Linked DNA regions of Homo sapiens: regions 2, 3, 4, 5, 6 and 7 are each linked to region 1. Evidence: promoter capture Hi-C in 16 types of primary human blood cells and fetal thymus (Javierre and others, 2016). All regions are on one chromosome and are shown on one strand. Each heading gives the region's core, a stretch centred on a gene start or on the middle of the fragment in contact. The rest is flanking DNA. Distances are from core to core; before and after follow the strand shown.

Region 1 (2,732 bases), core at 74-2,573:
AAAGGGTACAGCCGGTCGCTAACTTCTAGAGAAGAAGCCTCCTCCGAGCTGTGAGGGTCACCTGCCAGGCTTGTTCTCTTTCCTAACCAGCGCCCCTCCCTGCCGTCCCTTCCTCGTGCCCACCACCCCGCTCCCAGGTGTACCCTCCGGGAACAGCGGAGGCAAAGGGTACGTACCGCACAGGACTTGGGGCGAATCCTGCGAGAAGGGACCGCTCTGGGCAGGCTCCATGGAGAAGCTACTCGGGCCTGGCGTCTCCAGCGCCCCGGACGTGCCCTCCCAGGCGCTCCGTCTCCATGCTCGAGCGCAGACGGGTCCGGCTGCCTCGTCCAGCTTTGGCGGAGTCGCCGTCCCAGTGCCCGGGTCGCGCTCAGGATTGGTTCGCGGGAGCCAAGGCTTGGCACAGTTGGATTCACGGTGCAGGAAACTTAAGAGGCAAGAGAGGGAGGGAGCAGTAGAGGAGGAAAGAGAGGAAGACAGAAAGGGAGGGAGAGCAAGAGGGAGGGAGAGAGGGGAATGCGCCGGGCTGCTGCACCGGACGGACTGGGACTGCCAGCGCTGGCACCCGGACGAACAGTCCAGGACTCTCGGCTTCCCACAGCTGCCTGAGGATGGTGGAAATGACTTAAGGGGAGGAGACTGAGCAAGTCCTCTGGACTTGAAGTGGAGAGATAAGACACTGGCCTTTCGGAAGAAAAGAGAACCACACGGCAGACGAGAGCAGTCCGAGTTTCTGAGGGAGGGGTGGGGTGGCGAGAATCTGGAGCCTGCGGCACACGGAGCAGCTGTACCTCTACCCGCGACGCTGGGAAGCCCAGGAGCCGGTCCCCAGTGGAGTCCCGGGCGCTGTCCCTGGTGCTGCCCGGCCACCCGGGGACGCTCTGGAGCGCTTTGGGTTTCCGGCGGCCGCGGTGGTCGTGGTTTCTCCGCAGAGCCGCGGCTTGGCACGCCTACCTTCCTGACACGGACAATTACTTTGGCACGTGGGTGAATGATTCCTCAAAGACTAATTAGTACCCTGTGTAAACAGATCCGGCTCTCAGGCTCTCGCGGGCTGGGCCCACAGGGACAAGTGGCTCCCGCGGTGTCTTCGGTGGCCGCAGCGCCCCCTTCCCGGGGGGCGTAGGGAAGATCGCAAAGCCCAGGGGAGTGGCGGGAAGAGCAGCCGGGAGTCGCGTAGGGCGGGGAAGGGCGCGGGAGGGTGCAGGGCGCCCCTGCCGGCCTCGAGCGCCGACGCCGGGCGCCTCCGACCTGTGGCTGCCGGGCCGGAGGCGGGGGAGCCGCAGACTGCCAGCCATTCAGCTCGAGACAGCCGAGAGGACTGGGCGACCTTGGCCTCTGGACTCCTCGCCGCCGGCTGGGCTGAGCGTGAAGGGGGAGGAGGAGGACGGGGGATGCTTCGAGCCGTCACCACCTCCCTCGCTACTGACACCTCCCACTCAACCAGCGTCTCCCAGACTCGGCCTCTGTGCTCCGACTCTGGCTGTCTCTGTCTTTCTCAGTCTCTCCCTTACTGTCCCTATTTCTCAGTATCTTTCTCACTCCCTCTCTCTCTCTGTCTCCTTCTTCTGTCATTCTTGTGGTCTGCGTCTCTGTCCCTCAGCATCTTTCTGCCTTTTTCTGCCTTTCTGTGTGTCTCACTCAGGATTTCTGACTCTAGGTCTCTGTATCTCTGTGCCTCTACCGTGTCCCTGCCATTCCCCCTCAAACCCTGTTTTGTTTTTTGTTTTTTTTCCTCCACCCTTCCAGTGCACCACCACCAGAGCAGTTTCACCAGTCTCGGGAGACAGCCAGGACCAGCTTCTTCTGGTGCTGGTGGGGTTGCCAGTGCTCCTTGAGCTTGCCCAAATTCAGGGCACAAATCGGAACCCGGAAGAGGGTATCTCTTCCCCAACCTTGCCCATTGCATCTCCAAGCCTGCCCTTCACCAGAGCCTCTCCTGGGGTGATGCACATATCCATATCAATCTGTAGGAATTGTATGGAAATTTATCTCAGGAACCTGAGTTAGTGACATCAAAATCGAATTGTGATATTTAATGAGTCTGGAATGTCCTTTCCTCAAGTGTGGCTGTGGACACTCTGGCAGGTCTGGGCCTAGATACAATGTACACTCTAGACAATAGGTCCCAGGCTGAATTCCCCTGGATGATGGAGACCACCCCTCAAACAAGGCAGTGACAATCAGCAGAGCCACCCAGTCCTGCAGCAGAGGCAAGAGGAGCCCCACTGAGACCTTCCCCTGGAATCAGATCTCCAAAGACCTCCAAATTAGATCCCCACTGTAGAACATACCTACCAGCACTTTGAGGTCTACACTCTCCCTTCCAGCTAAAAATAACTCTTTAAAGAGCAAGCTCTTCTAATCTTAAAAGTTGTACTCTGCTGCTGTGACCTCCTGGAATTCATTGGGGCATATGCAGAATAAAGCAGTGAAGCACACCTTCTAACTGTGTCTCTGAAAATCCACTTCAGAAAAAACGCACATGTACATATAGCATAATTACAATGTTTTCTTGACTATTTTCACTTACCAGCTATTTCATTTTCTTAAAAACTTTAAACTTTAAAGAAGAAAAATTAAAGTATTGGGGCACCCGTATCTGAGGCCAAATGGTCAAAGCAGGGGCAAAAAAAGCTTTGTCTAATTCCATCCTCTAGGATTCATAAGGCTATCCTAAAATTGATTCCTATTTGTACAGGAGCTCCCAGGCCTCCCAGACTGGAGTGTAG
Region 2 (2,732 bases), core at 170-2,669, 2.0 Mb before region 1:
TACCGTAAATATAAATCACTCACATGGAAGACAAAACTTGGACTGAACTCAGATTCTCTCATAGCAACATTTGATGTCAGAAGACAGACGTGATACATGTGACAAGGTCAGGTAGCTTCTAAAGATCTAGTTGTCAGGAACAAGTTTAGACAGTCCCCATAAAGTTAGTGACTATTAGTTGCTATATCTTGCATCTCCCTTTTCTAACAAGGAAGCATTATGTTTGATGACATATACTACATTTGGACCTCCTACTCTGACCATAAGGCCTTGGGTGGTCCCAGAGAAAGAAATATCTTTACAACTGATTCAGGCTGGAAAGTGAGGGTAGGAGCACTGAACACTCATAACTCAGCAGATCCCGTGGGGATCTGAGGGCTGATAGAAAATCAGGATGCTTTATGTTTCCCCTGTCAAGCTCTACCAGGAAAGTCACAATGGATCATACTACTTCTTAAAAAATGAAGTTATGATTAATAATTGATTAGACTAGTGGAATATTATAGTTTAAAAGAAACTTAAGTATGTGTGCATCTAGTCTCCCCTTGTGTAATCCTCTTGATATGTAACAAAGAGAAAACAGTGCCTAAAATGTTAAGAGACTTGAGCAAGTTTCCAGCTTATGAGTGGTTAAATCATTAAGAGCTAGGTTTCTCATGAATTTTCACACTTTTCACCACTCTACCTCTCTGGATGGTGCTAATTTTTGATACTCTATCCATTTCTATCTGCATCCCTTAACCATAGCAAGGTAAGTCACAGGGTTCCAGTTTTTTCACAATTCTTCCAATTGTCACTTATTTTATTGAGAAAGGGAAATTGCTTTCATGAGAATCATCAGCAATTGAAATGAAAAGGCATTTGGATAAGTACCTTTTTTAAACAAGAGAAGTGCCTTTTTGGTATTTGTTACCTTAAGAAAGACCCTAGTACCTAACAGAGTACCTACCTAGAATGCAAAGCGTTTGCTTAAAAATATGTATTTATAGTGGATTTCATGGTAGTTCTATTTTCAATTTTTTAGAAACCTCCATACTGTTTTCTATAATGGCTGTACTAATTTACATTCCCACCAACAGTATATTAGGGTTCCCTTTTCCACATATCCTCTACATTTGTTATATTTCATCTTTTTGGTAATAACCATTCTAACAGTTGTCAGATAATATGTTGAGCATTTTTTCATATACCTGTTGCCCATTTGTATATTTTTTGAAAAATGTCTGTTCAGGTCCCTTGTCCATTTTTTTTCTATAGAGTTATTTGAGTTCCTTATATATTTTGAATGTTAACCCCTTATCAGATTATAATTTGTAAATATTTTCCCCCATTCTTTAGGTTGTGTTTTCATTCTATTTATTGTTTCCATTGTTTTGCAAAAGCCTTTTAGTTTGATGTAACCACATTTATCTATTTTTGCTTTTGTTGCCTGTGGTTTTTGAGTTTTATATAAGAAATTACTGGCCATATCAATGTTGTGGCGATTTCCCCATGTTTCTTTCTAGTTGTTTTATAGCTTCAAGTCTTAAATTCAAGTGTTTAATCCATTTTGAGTTGATTTTCATCTATCACGTGAGATACAAGTGTAATTTTATTCTCCTGCATGTGAATATCCAGTTTTTCTGACACCATTTGCTGAAGAGGCTGTCCTTTCTCCATTGTATGTTCTTGGCACCTTTGTCAAAAATCAGTTGGCTATAAGTGCATGGATTTATTTCTGGGCTCAATTTTGTGACATTGCTCTATATATCTGTTTTTATGTCATTATCATGTTGTTTGATTATAGCTCTGTAGATTTTGAGATCAGGTAAGTAGAATGCCTCCAGCCTTGCTCGTTTTGCTCAAGATTTCTTTCAGAGTTTTTTGTGGCTCCATTTGAATTTTAGAGTTATTTTTCTGTTTCTATGAAACATGTCACTGATATTTTCATAGGGCTTGCATTGAATCTGTAGATTGTTTTGGGTAGCAATTCCATCTCTGGGTATATATCCAAAGGAATTGAAATCAGTGTGTCAGAGACACATCCGCACTCCCATATTTAGTGAAGCATTATTCACAATAGCCAAGATAGGAAAACAACTTAAGTGTCCATCAAGTAATGAATAAATACAGAAAATTGGTATATATATACAATAGAATACTACTCAGCCTCTAAAAAGAATGAAATCCTATCATTTGTGATGATATGGATGAATTTAGAGGACATTACGCTAAGTGAAATAAGCCGGACACAGTAAGACAAATATTATATGACTCACTTATATGTAGAATCTAAAATGTTAAATTCATAGAAGCAGAAAGTAGAATAGTGATTATCAGAGGTTTGGGGGTAGGAGGGAGTATTGGGAGATGTTGGTCAGATGGTACAAAGTTATAGTTAGGTAGGAGGGGTAAGTTCTGGAGATCTGTTGTATGAAATGATGATTATATTAGGTGTGTGCAAAAGTAATTGTGCTTTTTGCCATAGTTAATGTTATAGTAAATAATAATATGTTGTATACAGTACTTGAAAATTGCTAACAGAATAGATTTTAAGTATTCTCATCATACACAAAAAAGGTGAGGTGATGAATATGTTCACTAGCTTGATTTCATCATTTCCCAATGTGGTGTGTTTTTTTGTGTATGTGTGTGTGTATAGATATATATATATATGTCTATATAAACATCATGTTATATATTAAAATAATACACATAATTTTTCTGTCAATTTAAAAAATTAGAAAGTACAT
Region 3 (2,732 bases), core at 102-2,601, 2.0 Mb before region 1:
CATGGTGAACCCTGTCTCTACTAAAAATACAAAAAAAAAAAAAAAAAAGAAAGAAAATTAGCCAGGTGCGGGAGCCCTCACCTGTAGTCCCATCTACTCAGTAGCCTGAGACATGAGAACCACTTGAACCCGGGAGGCGGACGTTGCAGTGAACTGAGATCGTGCCACTGCACTCCAGCCTGGGTGACACAGCGAGACTCTGGAAAAAAAAAAAAAATGGAAGAAAAGAAAGAAATACACCTGCAAATTTGTGGCCAATTAATTACTGACAACATTTCCAAGGGCATTCAATATGGAAGTGATCTTTGCAAATAATGGTGTTGAAACAATTGGATACACACATAAACACACCCACACACCCCTTTGATTCTTGCTTCACATCATGTACAAAAATTAACCTAAGTCATTAATCTAAAATGAGAGCAAAAGAACTAAAAATCTTCTAGAAGCAAACATAGAAGAAAATCTCTGTGACCTTGAGTTAGGCATTTTGTTTCTAATAGAACAATCATATAAACGCAAAATCTATACAATAAAAAATAATACATTGAAATTTATAGAAATTGAAATATTTTTTTCTTCAAAAGCACTTAAAAAATGAAATGTCAAACCATAGACTGGGTGAAAATATTTGCAATGTCTACATCCAACATATGTAAAGAACATTTATAGCTCAAAAATAGGAAGACAAGACAATAAGCTTGGGTGAAATACTTGAAGAGGGCATATGTTTGGCAAATAAATACACTTGTCACTAGGGAAATGCAAATTAAACCCATAATGTGATACCAAAACACATTAACTGAAATGGCTAACATGAAAAAATCTGACTATTTCAAGTGTTAACAAGGATATGCGGCAACTGGAACTTTCATGCATTGCTATTGGGAATGCAAGATGCAGTCGTCTTGGAAAACATGTGGACAGTGTCTTTTGAAGTTTAACATAATACTTACCATATTACCCAGTAATTTTACTCCTGGTTATTTACCCAAGATACATAAAAAGACCTGCATGTAAACATTTCTAGAAACTATATTCATAATAGTCAAAATCTGAAAAAAAAAAAACTTGTCAGTTGCTGAATGGATAAACAAACTGTAATTCATCCATGCAGTGGAATACTGCTTTTCAATACAAAGGAACGAACTGCAACTAAACACAACATTATGAATCTCAAAAGCATTATGTTACATGTAAGAAGTCATACAATAAAGACTACCTCCTGTATAATTCCATTCATATGAAATTCTGGAAGAGGTAACCTCTAATGATAGTAAGCAGATCCACAGTTGCCAGGGGATTGGGACAAGAAGGAACATTTTGGTGTCTTGAGAATGTTCTATATTATCATAATCTATATTTTTCTAAGCTCATCAAGTTACACACTTAAAATTGGTATATTTTATTATATATAATTATGTATAATATAACATATAATATATATCTGTTATATATTATAATATATTATTATGTAATAATATATTACGTATAACATATATATATTATATATATATATATATATATATATATATATATATAAAAAATAATACCTGAATAAAGCTGACCCCTCCTTCGAAGAAACCTGAGCTTTCCTTTGGACTAGTTGAGTTTGAGGTGTTTGTCAGACATGCTTGGGAAATTGTTTATTATGAAACTGAATGTAGGAGAGACATCCAAACTGAAGATTTTGATCTGTGAGTCATCAGCTTATAGATGATGAAGGTGAACATGCATCACATGGGGGAGAATATTTAAAATAAAAAGATGAAAGGTCAAGGATGTATAATGTTCACATTTTTGGGATGAATCATCACCCAATTTGACTAAACTGAATGGTTAGAGCTAATTACTATTAAGTTAATTTAGTCAAATTAGCAGTTGTAGAGAGGTTAATGATTATTCCACTCTGTTAAGTGCTGAAATTGGTGGCCATGCATTGACCTATGACTGTAAATGCCTTTCAGCAGTTTATATGGAGGGACATGGATAACAAGCTTATAACTGTACTGGTTATCCTTAGAAATGAGGCTATAAGTTCCAGATAAGTTAAAATAATTAGAAATAAATATGATACTGACAATAGAGTTCTTTTGCTTGCTAGGGCTTATCATAATTATTGAAGTTTGAATCCCTGTCATTCATTACTTTTCATAGGCTTTGGCTCTAAAGATTCCTGGCAACTTCCAAAGATAAAATATATATATATATGTGAACTATTTTCCAAATTTTATTTATTTTATTTACTTATTTATGCCTCTTCAGCTGTTAAAATACATAAAAATTTAGCAAAAATGTATAAGAATTACAAATAGATACATAAATTTAGGTACAATTATGATATTATAATTCACATCTTTAAATATAAGTGTTAAATAAGGCTATTTCAAATTGTCACACTTTGTGGACTCCAATTTCTGACTCCATTCAAGTTGATAAACTGCAGCTATACTATTTTATTTATGATCTTTACTGGAATTTTCAGTTCATTTACATTACTCATCCAATTTAATTTTACAAGTAAATTTCCTGAAGCTCTGAATTAAGTCTTTTAAATGGAAGCTAACAACTCAGCATTTGTTGTACTCATTTTCTTTAATTTTATGAATATATTAAAAGCAAGCAAATTGAATAGTCTACTTTTTTATATAAGAACATAATTTATGTATGTTTTGTATAATCATTTTTTCCTCCACTATCGTAAAAAACACGTGCTACTGGATTTTACGAAG
Region 4 (2,732 bases), core at 170-2,669, 1.9 Mb before region 1:
AAATAGCAGCCCAACCCTCAGTTTGGTCCAGGAACACTCTCACAAGGACCAAAAATCAGATGTGCAATCACAGTACCTGGCTTTAAGTTCATATTTAAAAAGGCATTGAGGATGACAGGAGAGGCACTGGTGAATCATTAACATTGCTCCTCCCTCATCTCCTGGCAGTGGCCATGCAGAATGGAGAGAGAATCTGTACACTTTTGAGAGGAAAGTATAGTGACTAGGTACTGCCTGTCACAACTCAGTGCTGTCCTGTCATAGTTGAGAATAAAGCCCTGCTGGGTTCAGCTGGTACCAGTGCATGGAGGGAGCATTTGGAATAGCCTTGGCCATAGAGGATTCACCCATTCAAATCAGAACTTTAGTTTCTTGGCAAGCCTTGCCACCATGAACTGACATCCTCTGGGGTCCTAGGTACACTTCAAAGGGAGTCCAGGACACAAGAATTGTAATTCCTAGGTAACTCCTAGTGCTAGACTGGGATTACAACCAGTGAACTAAGGTGGCATGTGACCTAGGGAGATACCAGCTGGCATGACTAAGGGAATGCTTGCACCCTCCCTTGACTTCAGCTAGTGCAGCATGTAGCAACAAAAGTGACCTCTTCTTTCTGCTTAAGGAGAGGAGAGCAAAGAGTAAAGAGGACTTTGTCTTGCATCTTGGATACCAGCTCAGCTATAGTAGAACAGGGCACTGGGCAGAGTCAGGAGGTCCCCATTCCAGGTCCAGCTCCCAGGAGACACTTCTAGACGCATCATGGGCCAAAAGGTACCCCACTGCCTTGAAGAGAAAGACCAAGTCCTGGCGAGATTAATTATCTTCTGACTAAAGAGCTCTTGGGCCCTGAAATCCACCAGTAATACCCAAGAAGCACACTGTGGAAACTTGGGTTCTGAGACATACTGGTTTCAGGAGAGACTCAGCACATTCCCACCTAGCTATGGTGAAAGACTGTTTCTGTTTGAGGAAAGCAGAGGGAAAAGTCTTGCACCCTAGGTAACAGTTTGGCTACAATGGGGTAGAGTAACAAGCAGCTCTTGGAGTCCCAAGTTCAGGAATAGGCTCTTGGGTGGCATTTCTAGACCTATCCTAGGCTAGAAGGGAGCCCATTGCCCGGAATGGTGAGTCCTAGGCCTGGCAGCATTCACAAGCTGAGAGAAGAGCCCCTGGGCTTTAAGCTAACATTGGCAGTGGCCTGGCAGAACCCCCCATAAACCAGTAGTGGTTCTGGCCACAGGAAGAGGCTCCTCTGCCTGTAGAAAGGGGAAGAAAAAGTGAGAAAAACTTTGTAATGTGGTTTGAGTGCCAGCTTACCCAGTTGTATCGAATTTCTAACATTTTTGACTCCAAATTCTGGGTCCCACACAGCATCTCTAGATATGCCTGTGACCTGGGGAAACTTGCCACCCTGAAGGGGGAAGGGCTCTGGGCAAGGCCTAGTGCTGTGCTGGCCTCACATCTGACTAAGCATAGTCCCACTGGTGGGGGAAACAGGGTTGCTTGCATCATCACATCCCCAGTTCCAGGCAGCTCAGCACAGAAAGAAAACTCTGTATTATTATTATTGTTATTTTTATTGTTATTTTGGAAAAAGTAAGAGAAAAGAACATGAGTCTCTTCCAGATCTTTTCCAAGACCACCAAAATAATACCTCTACAAGTCTGCAAAAACCACAGCATTATTGGGCTTGTGGCCTAAGTCCCTCTGAATACCTGGAAAACCTTCCTGAGAAGAACGAGGACAAACAAGCCCAGACTATGAAGACTACAATAAATATCTAAGTCTTCAATTCTCAGATGCTGATGAGCATCTACAAGCATTAACACTATCCAGGAAAACATGACCTTACCACATAAACTGAATAAGGCACCAGGGACAAGTCCTGGAGAAACAGAGATATATGACATTTCAGACAGAGACTTCAGAGTAGTTTTGAGGAAACACAAAGAAGGAATTCAGAATCTATCCAATAAATTTAATAAAGAAATTGAAATAATTAAAAAGAACCAAGCAGAAATTCTAGAGTTGGAAAATGCAATTGACATTCTGAGGAATCCATCAGATTCTCTTAACAGCACAATTTTTCAAGAAGTAGAAACAAGTAGTGAGCCTGAAGACAGGCTGTTTGAAAATATACAATCAGAGGAGACAAAAGGAAAAAGAATAAAAAACACTGAAGCATGCATACAAAATCTAGAAAAGAGCCTCAAAAGGGCAAGTTTAAGAGTTAATAGCCTTAAATATCAGGTACAGAAAGAGATGTGGTGGACAGTTTATTCAAAGGGATAATGTCCAAGAACTTCCCAAACCTAGATAAAGATGTCAATATTTAAGTACAAGAAGTTTAAGTTTAACACTGTGCAGAGTTAAACCAAAGAACCCTACCTCAAGGTATGTAATAATCAAGCTCCCAAAGATCAAGGATAAAGAAACGATTCTAAAAGCAGCAAGAGAAAAGAAACAAATAGTATACAATTGAACTCTCGTATGTCTGCAGCAGACTTTTCAGTTCATTGTTCACAATAGCCAAGATTTGAAAGCAACCTAAATGTTCATCAACAGATGAATGGATAAAGAAAATCTGGCAGTAACACACAATGAAGTACTGTTCAACATAGAAAATAATGAGATTCTGTCATTTGCAACAACATGGATAAAACTGGAGGTCATCATGTTAAGTGAAATAAGCCAGGCACAGAAAGACACACATTGCATATTCTCACTTATTC
Region 5 (2,732 bases), core at 113-2,612, 1.7 Mb before region 1:
TGATAGTATCTGTTCCACGTTTTCTTTTGCAACTTTAGTCAATCAATTTAAGATACTTTCCTATGTTAGAGTTGGCTTGCGCGGTGTCCTAGTCAGCTCAGGCTGCTAAAACGAAATATCATAGACTGGATGGTTGTTATAGAAAAAACTTATTCAATGACAATTGTTAAAGCATGGTAAGGAAGACTGTATTCAGGACCATTGTGATAGTTATAAGGAATACTGCAACAGAGTCTTGAAGCTGAGGAGAGAGATTGAACTCTGCATACTGTATGAACAAGTGGGAATTTTAGCCAAGGAGCAGTGTGAGAGTCAGTGGATGGAAAATTACTAAGAGGAAATGTCAGAGGTCAGGGGTGTTCTGGCTAAATTAAGTTAACAGGATTTTTACTAAAGACAAGCCACAATGATCAGACATCAGCTGGGGGATGGTAGAGGAGGAGGAATCTGATCAGATATTGAAGATAATCAGATATCGAGGATGGGGAGTCCTGGCTAAACTGATTTAGCCAGGTTCTTTTGCTAAAACTGGATTTTATAAGGAAGGGCATATATGGGCCTAGGAGAAGTTTCAGAAGCCTGACTAAAATCTTTCCAACTAAAGAACGCTTATCTTGGCTTACACAACAGACATTTATTTCTCTTGGTTCTGGAGGCTGGGAAGTCTATGATCAGTGTGCAGGCAGATTTGGCTCTTAGTCAGGACCCTGCTTCTGGCTTGCAGACAGTTACCTCCTCACATGGCCTTTTCTTAGTGACAGCACACTGAGATGACGCTAATCCCATCATGGGGGTTCCACCTTCAGGAACTCATCTCAACCTAGTTACCTCCTAAAGACCCCACCTGCAAATACCATCACGTTGGGGGTTACAGTCAACATAAATTTTGGGAGAACACAAATATTCAGCATGTAAAAGTCAAAATAGGGTTAACACTGCTATTATTTTTTAAATGAGGTTCATAGGTAATCAAATTCCATTTTGTTTTTAGCTATGCATTCCCAATCAATTCAATAACTTTGCTTGGCTCTGTGAAGTATAGGATTAATAAAATTATGTAGATAATTTTGTCCAAAAAATAATTTAAGTATTGGTTTAAATAACATTTTTACTAGAATGTTAATCTGAATTTTCTGTGTCAGCTCTCTGTTACAGTAAGTGAATGGATAGACAGAGGTCTTTTACTAGCCTAGAACCTACCAATTAATAGAGTCTAGGAGAAAATGCTGGTATAATTAACGACAAGTAAAGGAGGAGAAGCTTTGTAGGCTGGAAATGTAAGAAGAGGTTTTTAATTGAGGAGAGGCAGGAATTGTGAGTCAAATTCACTGCATGTTTCTGTTGAATGAAAAACACATTCTCTTTTCAGCAATTTTATAAAATTGTTTTATAATTATTTTCCCCACAAATATTATAAGTAGAGTTATGTTAATCTTAACCATATAGAACGTTCTTAAAAGCTTAAAAGTAAATATGCCTTTGATGAGATTGTAAAACTTGACAAATATAGGCCGGGCGCGGTGGCTCACGCATGTAATCCCAGCACTTTGGGAGGCTGAGGAGGGTGGATAACGAGGTCAGGAGATTCAGACCATCCTGGCCAACACAGTGAAACCCCGTCTCTACTAAAAATACAAAAAATTAGCTGGGCGTGGTGGCAGGTGCCTGTAGTCCCAGCTACTCAGGAGGCTGAGGCAGGAGAATGGTGTGAACCCAGGAGGCAGAGCTTGCAGTGAGCCGAGATTGCGTCACTGCACTCCAACCTGGGCGACAGAGCAAGACTCATTCTCAACAAAAAAAGCTTGACAAATATATCAACTGTTATCCTACAAAAAAGGAAAAAATTGTGATTTATAAGAGTTCTACAAAGTAAAATCCTAGCTTTAGGGGTTTAATTTTATTTTTTAAAATTAAGCTGAATAGGTATGAATTTGTTGTCAAAAGTGAAGCAGTTTTATATTTGGTGGTTATGAAATATATAAATTGAATGCGGCAGTAAAAAACTCTAAAACTTAAGATAAAGTGAACAAATTATACTGTACAGAGAAGAAATATAAAAGTAATAGGTCTAGAAAAATACTAGACACGTGGCAAGGTTAAATACAAAATATTGTCTAACTTGGTGAAAAAAATAATAGACACATATACATATATCTCAAGTCTCACCTTGAAGTTCAAGAATATAGTTATAATTGAGTACAGATCTGATATTTTACTCTAATAGATCTAGTTCCCAGAAGGCATAGAACTTCCAGCACTCGAGTCTGACTTCTTTTCCAGATCACAGATTCCTTCTTCCATGCTCTGTGATCATTCAGTTGCTATTCTGAGAGTGGAACTGGTATATTGTTGGGCAGCTGTAACTGCTGTTTTTACTGCACTAAGCTGAAATTGGACTCTGTAACTTTGCCCATTGGTCCTGGCTCATTGACACAAAACAGAGCAGCTTTCCTTTGTCGCCCTATAGACTGTCCTTCAAATCTACATTTTAGTTAATCAATTTGTATAGTTTGACTCTGTATGTTTTGATAATACAAAGCACTTGTCTTAGTCTGTTTGGGTTGCTAAAGAATTAGCATAGACAGAGTGGCTTATAAACAACAGAAATTTATTTCTCACTCTTTTGGAGGCTACAAGTCTGTGATTAGGATGCAGCATGGTTGAGCTCTGTTGAGGGCCCTCTTCCTAGTTCAAAGACTGCAGTCTTTTTGCTCTGTCCTCACATAGCAGAA
Region 6 (2,732 bases), core at 101-2,600, 1.7 Mb before region 1:
GTGGGAATGTAAATTAGTACAACCTCTGTGGAAAACAGTATGGAGATTTCCCAAAGAACTAAAAATGGAACTACCATTTGATCCAGCAATCCAACTACTAGGTATCTAACAAAGGAACAGAAATCATTATATAAAAACGATACCTGCACTTCTATGTTTATTGTAGCACTATTCAAAATAGCAAATATACAGACTCAACCTAAGTGTCCAATAATGATTGGGTAAAGAAAATGTGACACACACACATACAGTCACCATGGAATACTACCCAGCCACAAAATAAATAAATAAATAAATAAATAAAATAAAAAATAAAAAAAGAAATCATGTCTGTTGCAGCAACATGGATAGAACCGGAGGCCATTGTCTTAAGTGAAACAACTCAGAAACTGAAAGTCAAATACCACATATTCTCACTTAGAAGTGAGAGCATGGACATAGAGTGTGTGATAATAGACACTGGAGACTCAGAAGGGTGGGAGAGTAAGAGAGGGTTGAGGGATGAAAAATTATTTAGTGAGTACAATGTACATTATTCTGGTGATAAAATCCCAGACTTCACCACTGCACACTATATCCATGTAACAAAAGTGCACTTGCACTGCTTAAATTTTATAGAAGAAACATATGTGGAGACAATAAAGAAGATTCAAAAGTTTTAAAGATAGATTCATTCCTCAAATATTTTGTTTAGTTATAGGCATCGCTTTTTTTTTTTTTTTTGAAATGGAGTCTCACTCTGTCACCCAGACTGGAGTGCAGTGGTGGGATCTCGGCTTACTGCAACTTGCACCTCCCAGGTTCAAGCGATTCTCCTGCCTCATCCTCCCGAGTAGCTCTGATTACAGGCACCTGCCACCACACGTGGATAATTTCTGTATTTTTAGTAGAGACACGGTTTCACCATGTAACATTTTAAGAGAAATTTGGACTATTGAAATAACTTCATGAAAATATAGGGAGGCATGGTGACATTCCCCTGTAGGCCTGGCTACCAGGGAGGTTGAGGCAGAGGATCACCTGAGCTCAGGAGTTCAAGACCAGCACGGGCAACATAGTGAGGATTTGTCTTTGAAAAAAAAGAAAGAAGAAGGAAGAAAGAAAGGAAAGAAGAAAGAAAGGAAAAAAGAAAGAAGAAAGAAAGAAAAAAAGAAAGGGAGAGAGAAAGAAAGAAAAAGAAAAGAAAGAGAAAGGAAGGAAGGAAAGGGAGAGAGACAGAAAGAGGAGAGAGAGAGAAGGAAAGAAAGAAATAAATTAACAGAATATGAAGAGACTCGGAATGTAATGAGAAGGTAAAGAAAATTTAAAAATTAGACAAAAAAAGACTCAAGAGGCTGTAAAGTCTTAAAGTTCTGCTATAAGGAAGAAGCACTTGGCCTTCCTCTTCTCCTCTTTATTTCCTCTCATTCTCCCTTCCTTGTATATTTTTTCTTCTACTTTTTCATGTTGAGAGAGGAAAATAATGTTCTAACTTAGGATTCAGCAAAGAAAACTGAGACAGGTCCACTAGATATAATACAACCTATTTATGCCACAAGTACCTAGCATCCCATGATTATACATTTACTACCACTCATGTTCTATTTTGCTTGCTGTGACTTCAGGGATTAAGTGTTTGAAAAGGAAACAAAACTTCCACAAAAATTTTTAATGAAGCCAGGTGCGGTGACTCATGCCTGTAATCCCAACCCTTTGGGAGGCTAAGTCAGGTGTATCATCTGTGGTTGGGAGTTCCAGACCAGCCTGACCAACATGGAGAAACACTGCCTCTACTTGAAATACAAAATTAGCCGGGTGTGGTGACGCATTCCCAGGAAGTGGAGGTTGCGGTGAGCCAAGATCACGCCATTGCACTCCATCCTGGGCAACAAAAGCGAAACTCCATCTCAAAAAAAAAAAAAAAAAAATTAATGAGCAAAATTAACTTATTTTAAAATCATTCAATTTTACATGTTTTTCCTCCAAAGGCTATTAAATACATGCCAGCATAGTCATATAAGCAGATTACATAGCTATATCTGTGCCTGTTTGGTATAGAACAATTTGATTGCAAAACATGAATATTTACTCAATTGAGATGTGATACATATAATTCAATAATTTAATAGCTTAATAATCAAGGATTTCACTATATTTTGATTTGAAACATTTTGCTATTTGGGTATGGGCAATTAGAAGGAAGTTTCCAGAAAAGTGTTGCAGTACAGTCTGGCTTTCGCTTAATTCTCATAGAAAAGGGTAGAAAGCAGAGAAGATTAAAATCATTAAAACATTTAATGAATATTTTATTAACTATCATGAAGTGTTATATTAGCGAGCCTGCAATTGGGTGAGTTGCATCTACCATATCAAAGATGGGAAGTCTGAGTTACAGATAGACTCAACATCTTTCGATGTAATAGGTGTATTTTATTGACATTTTTTTCAATAACTATTACTGCAAGGCCTATCATTGTCTTTGTCTCTGACTCTTCTCTCCAAATCACTATGTTGAATATGCCCCAATAAGAACTTTCTCTTTAATCTGTGTTCTAAGGCAATTTCTTAGTTGTGGTTGTGTCTCTATAGCCTGAAGCTAATTCTTTTTATTATATTCTAGAGTTAAACTAAATGTAGTTCAATTTTTTTTTCTCAGACTGTACCGAAAAGTAAAAATAATGAGACATTTTTAAGGAATTGAGTTAAGGGATGTATCATTTGTTGTCCACAATATTTTGACCAAAAAATTGTAA
Region 7 (2,732 bases), core at 94-2,593, 1.7 Mb before region 1:
ACAGTGAAATCTGAGTATTTCTTTTGCTAAATTTGATGAATTTCTTTTTCTTTTGCTAAATTTGATGAAGAATCTCAGAGACTCTCAGAAAAATGTAACAGGACAAAAATGGGTATTTCTGCCTATACCCATTTATCCAGTTATAGAGAGGTCACCTCTCAAACGAGGGTCTCATAAACTGTTTCAAGAGAAGCTCAGAAAATCCTCCCTACTTTTTATGACCGGCTGCAGGGAAGGTGAACAAGAAAAGATCTGAATCACCTTCCTGCTTCTGTGATTTCCTCAAATTCCTTCACCTATTCAGTATGTCAAGGTGCCATCTTTTGGAACAGTGTGTCCTGAACCTCATCAAGATACTTCCTTCTTCTACATGCATTGGCAGGAGGGCATTGCTCAAGATTCTCTCTCCTGTTTGTGGTCATAGGTTTAGCCCATGATCCACAACTCATTTTGTTTCATTATTATGTCTGTTTATGAAGAATTGAAGTCCAGACTGTGAAGCACGCTGCACAAAGCCTTTAGTAATCTATTCTTATTTGACTTTTTCTCATCTTCTGACAGTTTGATGCTTGTGTTATGTGCTCAAAGCTTGCATAATCACTCTATGAAATTTAACTTTGTGAAGGCTTTCACACATTCATTCTTATGTCTTTCTCATTTTTTGGAATCCTTCTACATGCACCATATCCATTTCTCTATCTTTGTTTCTTTAACTCATCTGGTCTACAGTTCTCTTACTACAAGTGAACTTAATCTGACCTTGAAAGGGTACAGAATATGCCACAGTGCCGTAAGGATTATCTTGAGCTGAAGACATTTGAGAATCAACAAACGCAGGAAGAGGCTTTCTGCGAACTCCCCTTATCTGCCTGAAAATATATCCTCCAAAAAAAAAAAAATTTAAACTGTCCAAATTCCCTCCCTGGAAGTTTCATTGACCAGGGAAAATTGACTCTTGTCATAGGAAAAGAGATGAGAAGTTTGCACCAAACCTAGACAGTCATTGCCACAAACTCTGTCTCCCATTTATTCTCATAAGGGCCCATTTGTATTTCCTAAAATTTATTTTTCTCTCCCATAAGTGGCTTTTATCCCCTACCCTTTCCGCTATTAAGGTAGCATACAAGTTTCCAAATCTTGCTTCTCATTTTGGTATTCACTTTTTTTTAATGATGCCATAGTGCATGTAAAATTAAAAATTAAATATGTAAGCCTTTTCTTTTGTTTATCTGCTTGTTAGTTTAATACACTGATCCTCCAGCCATTAATAAAAGCATAGAGGAATTTGTTCCTCCCCTGCAGCCTTCTATGATATTTTCCTGATCTCCTCAGTAAGTCTGAGTTGCTTTTTTTCTGTCTTTCCATAACCTTGTATATTTGTCTATCTTCAAAACCAGGTCAGTTTATGATGATATAAAGGAGGACAATTGCTTTTCTTTTACCCAGGTAAAAGATTTTAGGTTCATGACTGAGGCTTCTACAACAAAAGACAGGTTAACAAGAGAAAAGCAAGCAGATTTACAGTCTACCCTCCATATCTGTGGGTTTCATACCCACAGATTGAATCAACCATGAATCAAAAATATTCAAAATGCATAAAAAGCAATGCAACAATAAAAATAATGTATATAAAAACAATACAGTATAACAACTATTTGTATAGCATTTATATTGTATTAGAAACTATAAGTAATCTAGAGATTATTTAAGGTGTATGAGAGGATGTACATAGATTATGTGCCATTTTATAACAGGGATTTGAGCACCCTTAAGTTTTGGTATTCTTAGGTGTTCTGGAACCAATCTCCCATGGATATTGAGGGATGATTGTATTTATTATAAGTTTTAAGTGACATTGGAGCCTTTGTAAGGAAAGACCAAAAGAAACAGTCAAACCTGCATATTTTTATGCTATGTTTGATGTAAAATGCAGAGTCACGGAGAAATATGATAAAATGGAATATGATCTAGTGGGAGTAAACTGAGGGAAACATATCAGAGTCTGCTGACTCAGATGCTTCTCTATGCCCTTGAGTCTTCAAAGACAAAAATGCTCATTTCTCTGGATATAGGGAGAGCACCTCTCACATGAAGCTTTTATAACCTATTTTAAGAGAACGCTAGAAAACCCTTCCCAGCTTTTATGAACTGCTTCAGGAAGGAAGGGCAGTGGGAAGGTTAGAGAGACATCTCCTCCTTTGCATAAATTCCTTCAGCTTAAAATATTTTGAGGTCATGTATCCTAAACTCCCTCTGTTATATTCATGCCTGTTATTCATACAAAGGTAGGGAAGGGCTCTATTATATTTACCTATGTAATTGTAAAACCTCTCTATGTCTGCCATTAGTGTTTAATAATATTTCATGAATTGATCAGAGCATTAATTACGGCTAATGTACGCATTTTACATTGAATCTCCCTGTGAATAGTCTACTTTCTTCTGTATCCACATTGAGGGGCAGGCTCAGGGTTTAGTTTCCAGCATCCGCAAAAGAAGACCTAGAAGTAATGACACACTGCACAATCATTGCATTAAATCCCCATTGTAGGCATTTGGTTCCTATTTCAACAATTATTTTCCACTCTTCATTCTCTTTCATCCTCTATATTATTCTCTCCCAAAGCCTCTCTAATCCCTCATATTGTGTTAAGTAATCTGGCTCTGCTTTTGTTCATACCTATCTCAGGCGGCAGAGCAAAGACTTCAGAAGATGAATCTTTTAAAAGCAGT

What was found. The method cuts DNA at HindIII sites, captures the fragments that hold promoters and counts their contacts. A CHiCAGO score of 5 or more calls a contact.
Region 2: a contact is called between a fragment that was not itself captured here and the fragment with the promoter of NXPH1 in region 1, in 5 of 17 cell types (endothelial precursors, total B cells, megakaryocytes and 2 more). The highest score is 8.0, in endothelial precursors.
Region 3: a contact is called between a fragment that was not itself captured here and the fragment with the promoter of NXPH1 in region 1, in 5 of 17 cell types (endothelial precursors, M2 macrophages, M0 macrophages and 2 more). The highest score is 8.1, in endothelial precursors.
Region 4: a fragment that was not itself captured here is called in contact with the fragment with the promoter of NXPH1 in region 1 in 2 of 17 cell types (M2 macrophages and M1 macrophages); the score reaches 7.6 in M2 macrophages.
Region 5: a fragment that was not itself captured here is called in contact with the fragment with the promoter of NXPH1 in region 1 in 1 of 17 cell types (endothelial precursors); the score reaches 8.7 in endothelial precursors.
Region 6: a contact is called between a fragment that was not itself captured here and the fragment with the promoter of NXPH1 in region 1, in 1 of 17 cell types (endothelial precursors). The highest score is 6.1, in endothelial precursors.
Region 7: a contact is called between a fragment that was not itself captured here and the fragment with the promoter of NXPH1 in region 1, in 1 of 17 cell types (endothelial precursors). The highest score is 6.5, in endothelial precursors.

Annotation. Positions count from the first base shown.
Region 1 is chr7:8,432,200-8,434,931 of GRCh38, reverse strand. NXPH1 (neurexophilin 1) reads right to left here and starts at 1,323. Exons shown (of 3, transcript NM_152745.3): 1 at 177-1,323. RefSeq lists enhancers at 1-211, 212-759. The HindIII fragment of the contact is 6,580 bases long and covers 1-2,639 here.
Region 2 is chr7:10,413,361-10,416,092 of GRCh38, reverse strand. No RefSeq gene overlaps it. Among named protein-coding and RNA genes, the nearest start is that of MGC4859, 370 kb to the left of the region's middle. The HindIII fragment of the contact is 8,177 bases long and covers 1-2,732 here.
Region 3 is chr7:10,392,456-10,395,187 of GRCh38, reverse strand. No RefSeq gene overlaps it. Among named protein-coding and RNA genes, the nearest start is that of MGC4859, 390 kb to the left of the region's middle. The HindIII fragment of the contact is 1,297 bases long and covers 703-1,999 here.
Region 4 is chr7:10,354,514-10,357,245 of GRCh38, reverse strand. No RefSeq gene overlaps it. Among named protein-coding and RNA genes, the nearest start is that of MGC4859, 420 kb to the left of the region's middle. The HindIII fragment of the contact is 5,988 bases long and covers 1-2,732 here.
Region 5 is chr7:10,136,229-10,138,960 of GRCh38, reverse strand. All of the region lies in intron 1 of LOC105375149 (a long non-coding RNA gene), which reads left to right. Among named protein-coding and RNA genes, the nearest start is that of MGC4859, 640 kb to the left of the region's middle. The HindIII fragment of the contact is 200 bases long and covers 1,263-1,462 here.
Region 6 is chr7:10,115,704-10,118,435 of GRCh38, reverse strand. All of the region lies in intron 1 of LOC105375149 (a long non-coding RNA gene), which reads left to right. Among named protein-coding and RNA genes, the nearest start is that of MGC4859, 660 kb to the left of the region's middle. The HindIII fragment of the contact is 6,290 bases long and covers 1-2,732 here.
Region 7 is chr7:10,085,742-10,088,473 of GRCh38, reverse strand. LOC105375149 (a long non-coding RNA gene) reads left to right here. Exons shown (of 3, transcript XR_001745088.2): 3 at 1-1,224. Among named protein-coding and RNA genes, the nearest start is that of MGC4859, 690 kb to the left of the region's middle. The HindIII fragment of the contact is 1,506 bases long and covers 591-2,096 here.